3 separate regions of the Homo sapiens genome follow, and regions 1 and 3 are each linked to region 2. Evidence: promoter capture Hi-C in 16 types of primary human blood cells and fetal thymus (Javierre and others, 2016). All regions are on one chromosome and are shown on one strand. Each heading gives the region's core, a stretch centred on a gene start or on the middle of the fragment in contact. The rest is flanking DNA. Distances are from core to core; before and after follow the strand shown.

Region 1 (4,553 bases), core at 2,054-4,553, about 16 Mb after region 2:
AGCTACTAGGGAGGCTGAGGTGGGAGAATCGCTTGAACCCAGGAGGTGTTGGTTGCAGCAAGCTGAGATCTGGGCAACAAGAGTGAAACTCAGTCTCAATCAATCAATCAATCAATAAAATAAGTCTGGCTGCAGAGTGGAGGATGGAGATGGGAGAAGGTCAAAACTGGAAGGCAAAAAGAGAAATTAGGAAGCTAATGCTGAAATCCCTTAAGAAATACAGCACTTTAGGCCAGGCGCGGTGGTTCACGCCTATAATCCTAGCACTTTGGGAGGCTGAGGCAGGCAGATCACAAAATCGAGACCATCCTTCCTGGCCAACATGGTGAAACCCTGTCTCTACTAAAAATACAAACAAATTAGCTGGGCATGGTGGCATGCGCCTATAGTCCCAGCTGCTTGGGAGGCTGAGGCAGGAGAATCACTTGAACCTGGGAGACGGAGGTTACAGGGAGCCGAGATTGTGCCACTGCACTCCAGCCCGGTGACAGAGTAGGACTCCGTCTCAAAAAAAAAGCACTTTGGGCCAGGGTTAATCTTAGTTTTCTGTATGTGGTACGATTTCAGGTGATTTTAATTTATTTCAATTAATTAATTATTTGTGACAAGGTCCTACTGTTCGGAAGGGTCATGAACTCCTGGGCTCAAGTGATCCTCCAACCTCAGCCTTCCAAGTATCTGGGATTACAGGCACAGGCCACCATGCCCAGCTCTATATTCATTTTTATTTATCTGAATAGTGTCATTTTTCCACAATGATCATGTGTAACTAGAATAATTTTTTAAGCTCATAGTCAGTTTCACACTGCTTCAGTGAGTCAGGATTGGAGACACCCAATAAGCTTCGAAACAGCTTGCTTAGGCTTAGTACAACTGCAAAGTGAACTCAGTGTGAAATAAAATATATCACTTTCTAAAGTTTGAAATTTAGTATCTTAATAAAATTAATGCAATTCTTTTGCCTAAGACTGCTGCAAGCAGGCACACCAACCAATTAGGAACTGGGGTCACAGAAACCTGGCTTGATCCTGACCAGCAATGTGATCTTGGAAAGATCCTTCCCAATGTCTGAGCCTTATTGTCATCTTCCATTTCACTATCATAACTAATTATTCATTTATATAGTAATTACTGAATGTCTCCTATGTGCCAGGCACTTTTCAAGACAATGATAATATAAAAGTAAACTAGGGGCCAGGTGCAGTGGCTCACACCTATAATCCCAGCACTTTGGGAAGCCAAGGCAGGCAGATCACTTGAGTTCAGGAGTTCCAGATAAGCCTGGCCAACACAGTGAAACTCCATCTCTACTAAAAATAGAAAAATTAGTGGGGCATGGTGGCGCTCACCTGTAGTCCCAGCTACTTGGGAGGCTGAGGTATGAGAATCGCTTGAACCTGGGAGGTGAAGGTTGCAGTGAGCCAAGATTGTGCCACTGCATTCCGGACTGGGTGACAGAGCGAGACTGTCTCTCATTTATTTAAAAAAAAAAAAAAAAGTAAACAGGAGTTTACAAACTAAACAAGAGCTTACATTCTAATGAGAGACAAAGAATGAACAGAATAAGTAAATTCTACAAACTATTCACAAGTGGTAAAAACTATGGAGAAAACTAAAGCAGAAACACATTAGGGGGAGAAAGACAAAATTTTTTCAAAGCGTGAGAAAAAGCCCACCTCGAGAGCAACATTTGAGCAACAATTTTCATTTGTAATGAGAAAATACCGACTTCGTAAGGTTGTTACAAGCCTTGTTAACACAGCATGGGCCTCACCTGAAAGCTTGTTAGAAGCTCAGAATTTCAGGTCCCATCTCAGACCTACAGAATCAGAATCTGAATTTTAACAAGGTCCCCTGGTGATTTGTAAGCATATCAAAGTTTGAGAAGCATTAATTAAAAGGATTAAATATTTGCGTCTGAACCAGGGCTGGCATATTATAGGCACTCAATAGATTCAATAATTCTTAGTTTTCTTTCCCCATTAACATAACCCTTATATCTTTCTAGTTATAATTAAGAATGAATGGCCAGGCACAGTAGCTCACACCTGTAATCCCAGCAGTTTGGGAGGCTGAGGTGGGAGGATTGCTTGAGGCTGGGGGTTTAAGACCAGCTTGGACAACATAGTGAGACACCAACTGTACCAAAAAAAAAAATGAAAAAATAAAGATAGCATTGAGTCTCTTCAATTAATTATGAATATTAAGCATATCCTGCCATTTACTTCCTTGCAGATCTAGCAGAAAATCTGAAAATAAAGCCAAGTTGCAGACAGAAGACAAAGATAAATTCACATGCAGACAAATTCAAACTCCTGACTACATTAATGTCTCTCATTGGTGGCCAAATTTCAGTCTAATCTTTGCTAATGTTTTTCACCACCCACAAATAAGAGAGACTGAGTGTGTCCCTTGACATTTGGAGATCAGGAAGTCCACCTTAAAAAGACAAGAGGCCAAAATGTTGGGAAAATCCTCTGGTGATAAAGGGAAAGCAAAAATTGTTTAAAAACAGAACAAAATATAAGTAAATAATTCAGGTTGCTTAAGTACTGTTTTCGTTTACAGAAACAGCAACTTCAAATGAGACGATATAAACCTGTATGATTTTTCTTATAATTTGCCTCCTGCAAATAAGCTTAAGTCTTTGTCTACCTTAGTCTTCTCTTTCCTAGCTACATATCACAACATACTTCCTTACTGCCTTCCTTCCGTCTTTTCTTCAACGCTTCTGTAAATTTTGATTTCAAAAGCAACGGCACAATTGCGTTCTTCTAGCCCTAGTTACGCAGTAATATAACGACAGGTGGAAACCTGCAGGTTGCCACGTTCATTGCAAAGTGTCCACAGTAAAGATAAAGGAGAAATTCCCCCGGCAATGAAAACGAGAATGAGATAAATTACCAAATTACATTAAAAGCGTGCTCTTATGTTAGAGATTTAAAGTTCCTCTCAGAAATCGCGGAGGATTTTGACCTGAAGCAAAAGTGAACTTCTTCCGGGTGGTAGAAAAGTAAACTGTCAACTATTTACTTTGGGGGGGTGGCGGGGGGAGGGTGCTGGGAAGGAATTGAGGCGAAAAGCCTCTGCAGGTGACGGTACAGGCCAATACCAGGAGGTCAAGTCGCCGGTGTCCCTTCGGCCCTTAAGTCCAGGGAAACGCACGGCGAGGGACGAGGGGCGATTCCCGCCTTTCTCCAGCCCTTTCTCCGCCCACAAATGACGGCGGTGGCGAAGATCCGGGCCCGCCGCGCGAGGCACTCTGGGAGCGGAAGAAGGAGGCCGCGCGAGGGCTGACGAACCGGAAGAAGAGGAACTGGGCCTGAAAGGGTACCGGTGACCGCTACTGCTGCCGGTGTTTGCGTGTGGCAGGGAGCCAGGCCTGGCGAGCGGGGTGTGTCGCGATGCCGGAGCTGGCAGTGCAGAAGGTGGTGGTCCACCCCCTGGTGCTGCTCAGTGTGGTGGATCATTTCAACCGGTGAGCGAGCGCCCTATAGCTGGGCCGGCGGCGCAGCCGCTGCTGAGTCACGGGCACGCTGGAGATGGCGCGGCGGCCGCGGACGAGCTGGGGACGCAGATAGGGCGGCTGGTGACCCTTACTTGTTCACGAGTCCAGACCAGCGTCGGCTCACGATGCCGGAGTCATCCAGCCTCCCGCCCCTGCCCCAGCCGCCGCCACTTCGGGGCCTTGGCTGCCTGTTCCGTTTAGCCTGTTTGTTTTACAGAGTTCCCTTTCCGAGTTCGTTTTGCCGAAGTTCGTTTTACCGAAATCTGGATGATGCTGGGGGTCGGGAGATGCGGCTAGCTTTAGTTGGCCCTGACCCCCGCCCCCAAGCTCGTGTCTGTCACTTCGTTTTGAAGTTCGTTTTGCCGAAATCTGGATAAAGCCAGGGTGGGGCGGAGGCGGGCTAGCTTCATTTGGCTCTGACCCCCGACCCCAGGGTCGTATCTTCATTTGACTCAGTTGATTTCACTGAAATGTGAATAATGCAAAGTGACTGATGTCTGGATGATGCTTGGGTGGGGCGGAGTGGGCTAGCTCCATTTAGCCCCGCCCCAAGGCTATGTTTATCTTCGTTTGACCGAATTGGTTTCACCGAAATATGGATGATGCTGGAGTGGGGTGCAGGGTGGCTACCTTCATTTGGCCCTGACCCCGGCCCCAGGGTCGTATTTATGTTTATCCTCGTTTAACCAAGTTGATTTCACCGAAATGTGAATGATGCAAAGTGAATGATGCCTGGATGATGCCGGAGTGGGGCTAAGGGGGCTAGCTTCAATTTGGCCCTGACCCCCGCCCCCAGGGTCGTATCTATGTTTGTCTTCATTTGACCGAGTTCCTGTTATCGAAATCTGGATGATGCTCAGCACCCCGAAGGGCTTCCTGGATCAGCTGTGGTTTTAACCCATTAACATTTTTAAATGGGAATCTGATTAGACTCCGTCTCAAAAAAAAAAATGTATATATAGATGAGGTTTCAGTTTTTATTTAAAACACGAGGCCGAGCATGGTGGCTCACGCCTGTAATCCCAGCATTTTGGGAGGCTGAGAC
Region 2 (4,115 bases), core at 392-2,891:
AACTCTCCAAACTAGTTTTATCAACATGCTATCATTTCAGTCAAAGCACAGCTAGCCACCTAAAACCATGTATCATCAATGCATATTCTCCTTAGACAAGGTAACAATTTGCAGTATCCTAAAACATAATTATTTAAACTGTTACCACATGTCTTCTTAATAGCTAAAATACTCTGCTGCCAATCTTTAAAAGGGTAGGAATACCAACCGGGACCACAGATCACTTAAGTATTAAACCCAAGTACCTATAGAAAAAAATTGTTCTTAATCTGTTTGACCTTCCTCCTAATATTTTACTTGCCTTCCCTCATTTTTTTAATCCATGTATTCCCTATTCCTATCAAAGGGGCTGTCATAAGGAAAACGTTCGGCATTGTTTCAAACAGTATAATTATATTCACTCAATCACTGACTTAAAAAAAAAAAAAAACCCAAGTAGTCACAGGCTATCGAATTGTAGAGAAATCGGCAGGGTAGGTTAAGCATTGTTACTCAGTTTTCAGGAAGAAAACAGACTTTATTAGAGTCCTAAGAAATGTGACATTTGATTAACTTCATGGGAAAAGTTTGTCATAAAGTTTATTTTAAATACAACATTTTCAAACGCACAGATGTCAAGCATTCTTTTTTAATCTACAAAGCTTACTCCTCGGGGAGTTAGTATCTGTGAGCCCTCTTGGGTGAATTCTGCAAAGGAGGTGGTACTGAAAAAGTATTATTTGTGTTTGGCCTTAAGTACCTCTACAAGACCTGCCGTGGATCTTATCAGCCTTGAGGCCTACAAGTGCTCAGCTCACTAGCGGGACACTTGTCCTGGGTGAGCAGGACCGCCACTACTGCAGACACCGGACCGAGTAGGTGGGGGCCAACTTCAAAGAAAGTGTGAGCGCCCAGGCGCGCGAGTGGAACAAAACCTGTAGCAAGTAATAAGGAAGTGCTTGCTCCCGCCCGCCCTTCCCATCCGGGGACACCCGAAACCTGGGGGGCTTTGACAACGTGCTGGGGGCGTAAGACGGGGAGAGTGGCAGCTCCGAGTACACGGAGAAGAACTGGAAACATGCAAAAACTCCAAACACGGTCCCCCCCGCCAGAAGCCCTAGGCCTCGGAAGCCGATGCCCACTGCAACCATCAGGGAGCAGAGACAGAAACAGTAGTTAAGGAGGTCGTGGAGGTCTCAGAGGGGTGCAACCCGCGCGAAGCCAGGCCCAGCGACACGAACTGCCGCCGCTGCCGCCCCCTGAGCCTCCAGGCCCGGGACAGAGACCACCATGGGTCTCACCCCGCGCTCTACCCTCCGCTTCCTGGAGCCTTCTCGCTGGCCTCTCATCTTCAGAGCGCGAAGCCTCCGAGAGCCGTGTGGAGAAGAGTCCGCCCTCTCCCGCCTCGTCCCACTTCCCCGTCCCGGCTGCCTCTCACTCCCTAGAGCTCCGGGAAACGCTTCCAGTGGCCCCAGGTCCACCCCTGTTCCTCCTCCCACCGGCTCTCGCGTTCCCAAGCTGACACCGCCACCCTACCCTAGCCCCTGACGCCAACCCGCCTCACCTCAGGCGGCTCCGGCAGCGCTGGACACAGGAAACTCCTGGGTCCCCGACTCCGGCTCTCCTCGACCCCCTCTTCGGTTAACTCCGCTTGTTTCTCTACAAAATGGCGCCGGAGGTCGCGCGCTCACGTCGCGGCCTTTCCCCTCCCCGTTCCCATTTCATCATTCGCTGCCCGCCCGAGGAGGGATGGCCCCAGAGCCAGCCAATGGCCGCGCCCCGCCTGTGGCTTCTACCCAATCACCGACAGGTGCCCGCGGATTTAAACCAATCACACTCTATCACTTGCAGAAGTCGAGGAAGAAATCAGGCTCCTGCTAGCAACTACCAATCCGGCCTCCTACTTCGCGGACTTTGGCCAATTGCCGCTCACCAGGCCCAGGGGACCGGAGTCAGAGCCCTCGCGCCTGCGCTCGAGGCGAGGGCCAATAGGGAGAGGCTGATAACTTCGATTTGGGGCTTCACGTACTTCCCACCTGCCCTGGAGGGCTGCGACCAGTGGGGCTTGGCATTGCCTTTGAGGAACAATAAATTATGGAAGGGGCCCATAACTCCTCGCCACCCTGCGCGGGAACTACTTTGAATTACAGTGAAACAGCTTTCCTCCACTTTCCTTCCTCTTTCGAAATGTCACGGTCCAGTAGACTTCGGGGATTCCCAACCGAAACAATCCCCTCCCCTAGTGTCCCTTTGGCGGGGAACGCCAGCCAGAAAGCAAGCCAGGTTGTGACTAGAGTTGGGGCGCTTTGCATCCTGGGATGTGTAGTCGCGCTCCTCTACCCCGTTCCCATCGCAGAAGTAATGCGTCTTCGTTCGTCGCTGCGCCCTAGAAGGAGCAGTGCATGCTGGGGGTTGTAGTCACCCAGGTGGCCACCTTGTCCTCGCTTGCTTCGCTTTGGTCAAGGGAACTTTCTGTTTTAGTTCTGTCTATTGAAGAAGGGACACCTTCCAGAGACGCCTTCCAGAGACGTAGGAGACGCAAGTTCTCTTCCTGGCTTAAGTCCTAGAAGCCGTCTAAGAAAGGATACCCATGTCCTTTGCTCTCAAGAGAAAAAGCATAGAAACATATTTTGCTATGGTTTGTTTGTTAACTATGATAGTTGGTAAGATTTTATACTCACCTGTACCCAAAAGAGAAAGGATTGGGAAGGAAGTGTTGACTGGTTAGCTCTATTACCTTTTGAAATTAAGGCCGGGCGCGGTGGCTCACGCTTGTAATACCAGCTCTTTGGGAGGCTGAGGCGGGTGGATCACGACGTCAGGTGATCGAGACCATCCTGGCTAACACGGTGAAACCCCATCTCTACTAAGATACAAAAAATTAGCCGGGCGTGGTGGCGCACACCTGTAATCCCAGCTACTTAGGAGGCTGAGGCAGGAGAATCGCTTGAACCCGGGAGGCGTGGGTTGCAGTGAGCAGAGATCGCGCCACTGCACTCCAGCCTGAGCGACAGAGCAAAACTCTGTCTCAAAAAAAAAAAAAAAAAAAAAAAGGCAGGGCGCTGCGGATCACGCCTGCAATCCCAGCACTTTGGGAGGCCGAGGCGGGCGGATCACGAGGTCAGGAGATGGAGACCATTCCGGCTAACACGGTGAAACCCCGTCTCTACTAAAAATACAGAAAAATTAACCGGGCGTAGTGGCGGGCGCCTGTAGTCCCAGCTACTCGGGAGGCTGAGGCAGGAGAATGGCGTGAACCCGGGAGGCAGAGGTCGCAGTGAGCCGAGATCGCGCCGCTTGACTCCAGCCTGGGCGACTGAGCGAGACTCCGTCTCCAAAAAAAAAAAAGAAAAGAAAAAGAAATTCAAACCTATCCCTGTGCTCACCCCTGTCCTCAGACTAGGCTCAGTAGGTGGTCTTCTGGCCATCTCTCTCATATTACCTCTCGTGCCCAAAAAAATACTTAAAAAAAATTATGGTAAGAAACACATGAAATTTACCATCTTAATCATTTTTAAGTGTAGAATACAGTAGTGTTAACTATATGCATATTGTTGTACAACAGATCTCTAGAACTTTTTCATCTTGCAAAACTGAAACTACATCTGTTGTTTAACACCTTCCATTTCCCCCTCCCCCTAGTCCCTGACAATCACTATTCTTCTTTATGTTCCTGAGTTTGATTACTTTAGATACCTCATATAAGTGGAATCATGCAGTATTTGTCTTTTTGTGACTGGCCTAGTTAACTGAGCATATGTCCTAAAAACACATCTTTTTTTTTTTTTTTTTTTTTTTTTTTTTTTTTTTTTTTGAGACGGAGTTTTGCTCTTGTTGCCCAGGCTGGAGTGCAATGGTGCAATCTCAGCTCACTGCAACCTCCGGCCTCCCCAGTTCAAGCAAGACTCCTGCCTCAGCCTCCCAGGTACCTGAGATTGCAGGCACGTGCCACCACACCCAGCTAATTTTTGTATTTTTAGTAGACACAGGGTTTCACCATGTTGGTCAGGCTGGTATTGAACTCCTGACCTCAGGTAATCCACCCGCCTCAGCCTCCCAAAGTGCTGGGATTACAGGCATGAGCCACCAAGCCCAGCCTAAAAATACTTTTCGACACCTCCCTTTCCTTAGTTGGA
Region 3 (4,233 bases), core at 598-3,097, about 13 Mb after region 2:
CTGGGACTACAGGCACCCATCACCACACCCAGCTAATTTTTTGTGTTTTTAGTAGAGATGGGGTTTCACTGCGTTAGCCAGAATGGTCTCGATCTCCTGACCTCGTGATCCACCCACCTCGGCCTCCCAAAGTGCTGGGATTACAGGTGTGAGCCACCGCGCCCTGCGTAGTCTTTTGCTTTAAATTCGTTTTTAGTCTGATTTATTTAATGTACTGGTAATCATTTAGGATATATCCTTTAGTTACTACTTTTGTGGTTTACTGTCATTGTCTTTAATGATTAGTTTCTTCGTAAAATGGGGATCTGTTGAATAGGAGTTGAAAAATCCTCAGTACTTAACAAAATAGTTTAGCAAATTGCTTTTCTTTCCTTAATTCTAAAACAAAACTAGATTATGTAAATTTGTAGAATTTTTTTAAAAGCATGTGGTTTTTAATTAAATTTTCTACTAATTAACATAATACATGAGCGACAGCTTTGTACAAAACACTGTGCTAGGCAGTGTGTGGGTGACATACCGTTCTAGGCAGTATGTAAGAAACAGTTGTCTTGCAGTGAGATTGAAACAGATTAATCAGAATTGTTAAACCGAGGGAAAAAGATATAAAGCATGCCTTAAACATCTTATTTTAACATAAAACACACAAAAGAGGCTAGCTAATCTTTAGATGAAGAGCTAAGACTTTTTAAAATATGGGTCCATTGACTGGAATTTATTTAACAAATGTTTACATGGTGCTTACTGTGTACATATAACACAATGTGCTAATTTCTTTACAAATTTTCACTTAATTCTCATACCAGCCCAAGAGGTGTGAAGGTTCATGTAATATTAGTACTGATTTTCCTCAGATGTTTGATAGAATTTGCCAGAGAAGCCACCTGGGCCTGGATTTTCTTTGGGAATGGTTCTTAATTTTAGATTTAATTGTTTTTTTTTTGAGACAAAGTCTGGCTCTGTCATCCAGGCTGGAATGCAGTGGTGTGATCTCGGCTCACTGCAACCTCCACCTCCTGGGTTCAAGCAATTCTTCTGCCTCAGCCTCCCGAGTAGCTGGGATTACAGATGCCTGCCACCACGCCTGGCTAATTTTTGTATTTTTAGTAGAGATGGGGTTTCACCATGTTGGCCAACCTGGTTTCGAACTCTTGACCACAAGTAATCTGCCCGCCTCGGCTTCCCAAAGTGCTGGGATTATAGGCGTAAGCCACCGCGCCCAGCCTAGATTCAATTTTTGTAATAGATCTAGTGCAGCTATATTTTCTATTTCTTTGTGTCAAATTTAGTAAATTTGAGTTTCTGAGGGATTTGTTTATTTCATTTAATTGTTGAATTTATAGATATATGTTGGTTATAATATCGCCTTTAAAAGTCTTTAGAATCTGTAGTGATATTCACCCTTTCATCGCTGATACTGATAATTTATATGTTTATATGTTCCTTTTCTTTGTGAGTTTGTTATATAGGTATGTCAGTTTTTAAAAAATCGTTTTGAAGAATCAGCATTTAGTTTCCTTGATTTTTTTTCTATTTTTTCTTCTATTTCATTGATTTTTGCTTTCTTTTTGTTGTTTTTGCTTACTTTGGTTTGATTTTGCTCTTTTTCTGGTTCCTTAATGTGGAAGCTTAGATTAGTAATTTGAGACCTTTTTTCTGGAGAGACAGAGTCTTGCTCTGTTGTCCAGCCTAGAGTGCAGTGGGCATGATCATAGCTCACTGCCTCCTCAAACTCTCGTGCTCACTGCCTCAGCCTTGCAAGTAGCTGGGACTCCAGGTGTGTGCCACCATGCCCTGCTAATGTTTTAATTTTTTTGTAGAGAATGGGGTCTTGCTACATTGTCCAAGCTGGTCTCAAACTCCTGGCCTCAAGTGATCCTCTCCCCTTGGCCTCCCAAAGTGCTGGAATTACAGGTGTGAACCACTGAGCCTGGCCTCTTCTTTTCTAATTAAAACCTTAATGATATAATTTTTTCTCTAAGCACTGCCTTAGCTACATCCCACAAATTCGTTACATATATATATTTTTTTTTTCAGTACAAACCTTTAAAAAATTTTTTTCACTTGAAGCTTTCTCTTTGACCTCCAAGCAGTTCATCTAGAAGTATATTGTTGAATTCCCAAATGTTAAGAGATTTTCTGTTGATTTCTAGTTTAATTCCATTACAGTTAAAGAACATTCTTGGTATGACTTCAATTCTATTTAATTTGGGTTTTGTTTTCCTCTTCTTTAAAAATTTAATAGAGACGAGGTCTTACTGTGTTACTCAGGCTGGTCCCTTGGCCTCAAACGATCCTTCTACCTCAGCCTCTCAAGTAGCTGAGGTTATAGGTGAGAGCTACCATGCCTGGTCCTATTTAATTTGTTAAGTTTGATTTTAGAACCCCAGCTATGTCCTACATTCATGAATGTTCTAGTACACTGCTGTGTTGGGTGTAATGTTCTGTAAGTGTCAGTGAGATGCCGTCAGTTGGTGGTGGTGTTCAGTTCACTGTCCTTGTTTGTGTTCTGTCTGCTAGGTTGATCAGTTATGGTGGGAGGTATGTTGAAGCCTCTAACTATAATTAGATTTATTTCTCCTTTCCTCTCTGTTAGTTTTTGCTTTTTGTTTTTGAAGCTCTGTTGTTGGGTGCATTCACAGTTAGGATTGTTGTATCTTCCTGGTGACTTCACCCTTTTATGCTTATGTAATGTCCTTCTGTATCCCTGGTTTTCCTTTCTCTGAAGTCTACTTTGTCTGATTTTAATGTAACCCCTCCAACGTTCTATTTGTTTGGTGGTGGTGGTGGTTGTTTTGAGACGGAGTTTCGCTGTTGTTGCCCAGGCTGAGTGCAGTGGTGTGATCTCCGCTCGCTGCAATCTCTGCCTGCCAGGTTCAAGCAATTTTCCTGCCTCAGCCTCCCAAGTAGCTGGGATTACAGGCTTATGCCACCACGCCTGGCTAATTTTTTATTTTTAGTAGAGATGGGGTTTCGTCATGTTGACCAGGCTGATCTCGAACTCCTGACCTAAGTGATCCACCTGCCTCGGCCTGCCAAAGTTTTGGGATTACAGGCGTGAGCCATTGCGCCCGGCCTGTTGTTTTGAGACAGGATCTTGCTCTGTTGCCCAGTCTGGAGTGCACTTGCACAAACATGGCTGTCTGCAGCCTTGACCTCCTGGGCTTAAGCAGTTCTCCCACTTCAGTCCCCCCGAGTAGCTGGGACTACAGGCACATGCTACCGTGTCCAGCTAATTTTTATTTTTAATTGTAGAGATGGGATCTTGCTCTTAGTCTGGTCTTGAACTCCTGAGCTCCAGCGATCCTCCCACATCAGCCTCCCAAAGTGCTGGGCTTACGGCATGAGCCACCATACCTGGCCTCCAACTTTCTTTTGATTAGTGTTTGCATATATACCTTTCCCATACTTTACTTTTAAACTACCTACATTATTATATTTGAAGTGAGTTTGTTGTTGACAGTATATAGTGGATCATTTTTTGGTTCATTCTCACAATATCTGTCTTTTAATTGTGTTTATACCATTTTCATTTAATTATGTAATTTTTGAATGTTTGAGTTTAGGTCTACATTTTATTATTTGTTTTCTGTTCTCTCATTTTTGTTTCTGTTTCCTGCTTTTTGAGCTATTTGAACATATTTTTAAATTCCATTAAAAAATTTTTTTTTTGCTTTTTTTGTGTAGTATTTTTGTTTTTTTGTTTTTTGAGATGGAGTCTCACTGTGTCACCCAGGCTGGAGTGTAGTGGCGTGGTCTCAGCTCACTGCAGCCTCTGCCTCCCGTGTTCAAGCAATTCTCCCGCCTCAGCCTCCCAAGTAGCTGGGACTGCAGGTGCGTGCCATCACACCGGGCTAATTTTTGTATTTTTAGTAGAGATGGGGTTTTACTATGTTGGCCAGGCTGGTCTCGAACTCCTGACCTCGTGATCCACCCACCTTGCCCTCCCAAAGTGCTGCGATTATGGGCATGAGCCACCATGCCTGGCCGTATACAATTTTTTAGTGGTTGCTCTAGGGGTTACAATGGATGAACTTTTCTTTTTTTTTTTTTGAGACAGTTTCACTCTCGTTGCCCAGGCTGGAGTGCGATGGCACCATGTCAGCTCACTGCAACCTTCGTCTGCTGGGTTCAAGTGATTCTTTTGCCTCAGCCTCCCTAGTAGCTGGGATTACAGGCGCCCACCACCATGCCCAGCTACTTTTTTGTATTTTTAGTAGAGACGGGGTTTCA

The links. The method cuts DNA at HindIII sites, captures the fragments that hold promoters and counts their contacts. A CHiCAGO score of 5 or more calls a contact.
Region 1: the fragment with the promoter of PSMD7 here is called in contact with the fragment with the promoter of CNOT1 in region 2 in 5 of 17 cell types (naive CD8 T cells, non-activated CD4 T cells, total CD4 T cells and 2 more); the score reaches 14.8 in naive CD8 T cells.
Region 3: a contact is called between a fragment that was not itself captured here and the fragment with the promoter of CNOT1 in region 2, in 1 of 17 cell types (activated CD4 T cells). The highest score is 5.4, in activated CD4 T cells.

The regions. Positions count from the first base shown.
Region 1 is chr16:74,293,511-74,298,063 of GRCh38, forward strand. It overlaps PSMD7 (proteasome 26S subunit, non-ATPase 7), which reads left to right and starts at 3,304. Exons shown (of 7, transcript NM_002811.5): 1 at 3,304-3,478. The coding sequence starts at 3,405. RefSeq lists enhancers at 2,537-3,428, 3,219-3,528, 3,429-4,318. The HindIII fragment of the contact is 3,645 bases long and covers 2,637-4,553 here.
Region 2 is chr16:58,628,185-58,632,299 of GRCh38, forward strand. CNOT1 (CCR4-NOT transcription complex subunit 1) reads right to left here and starts at 1,642. Exons shown (of 49, transcript NM_016284.5): 1 at 1,544-1,642. RefSeq lists enhancers at 719-1,395, 1,396-2,071, 1,520-1,729, 2,020-2,509. The HindIII fragment of the contact is 12,291 bases long and covers 640-4,115 here.
Region 3 is chr16:71,901,345-71,905,577 of GRCh38, forward strand. All of the region lies in intron 1 of IST1 (IST1 factor associated with ESCRT-III), which reads left to right. Among named protein-coding and RNA genes, the nearest start is that of IST1, 7.9 kb to the left of the region's middle. The HindIII fragment of the contact is 442 bases long and covers 1,627-2,068 here.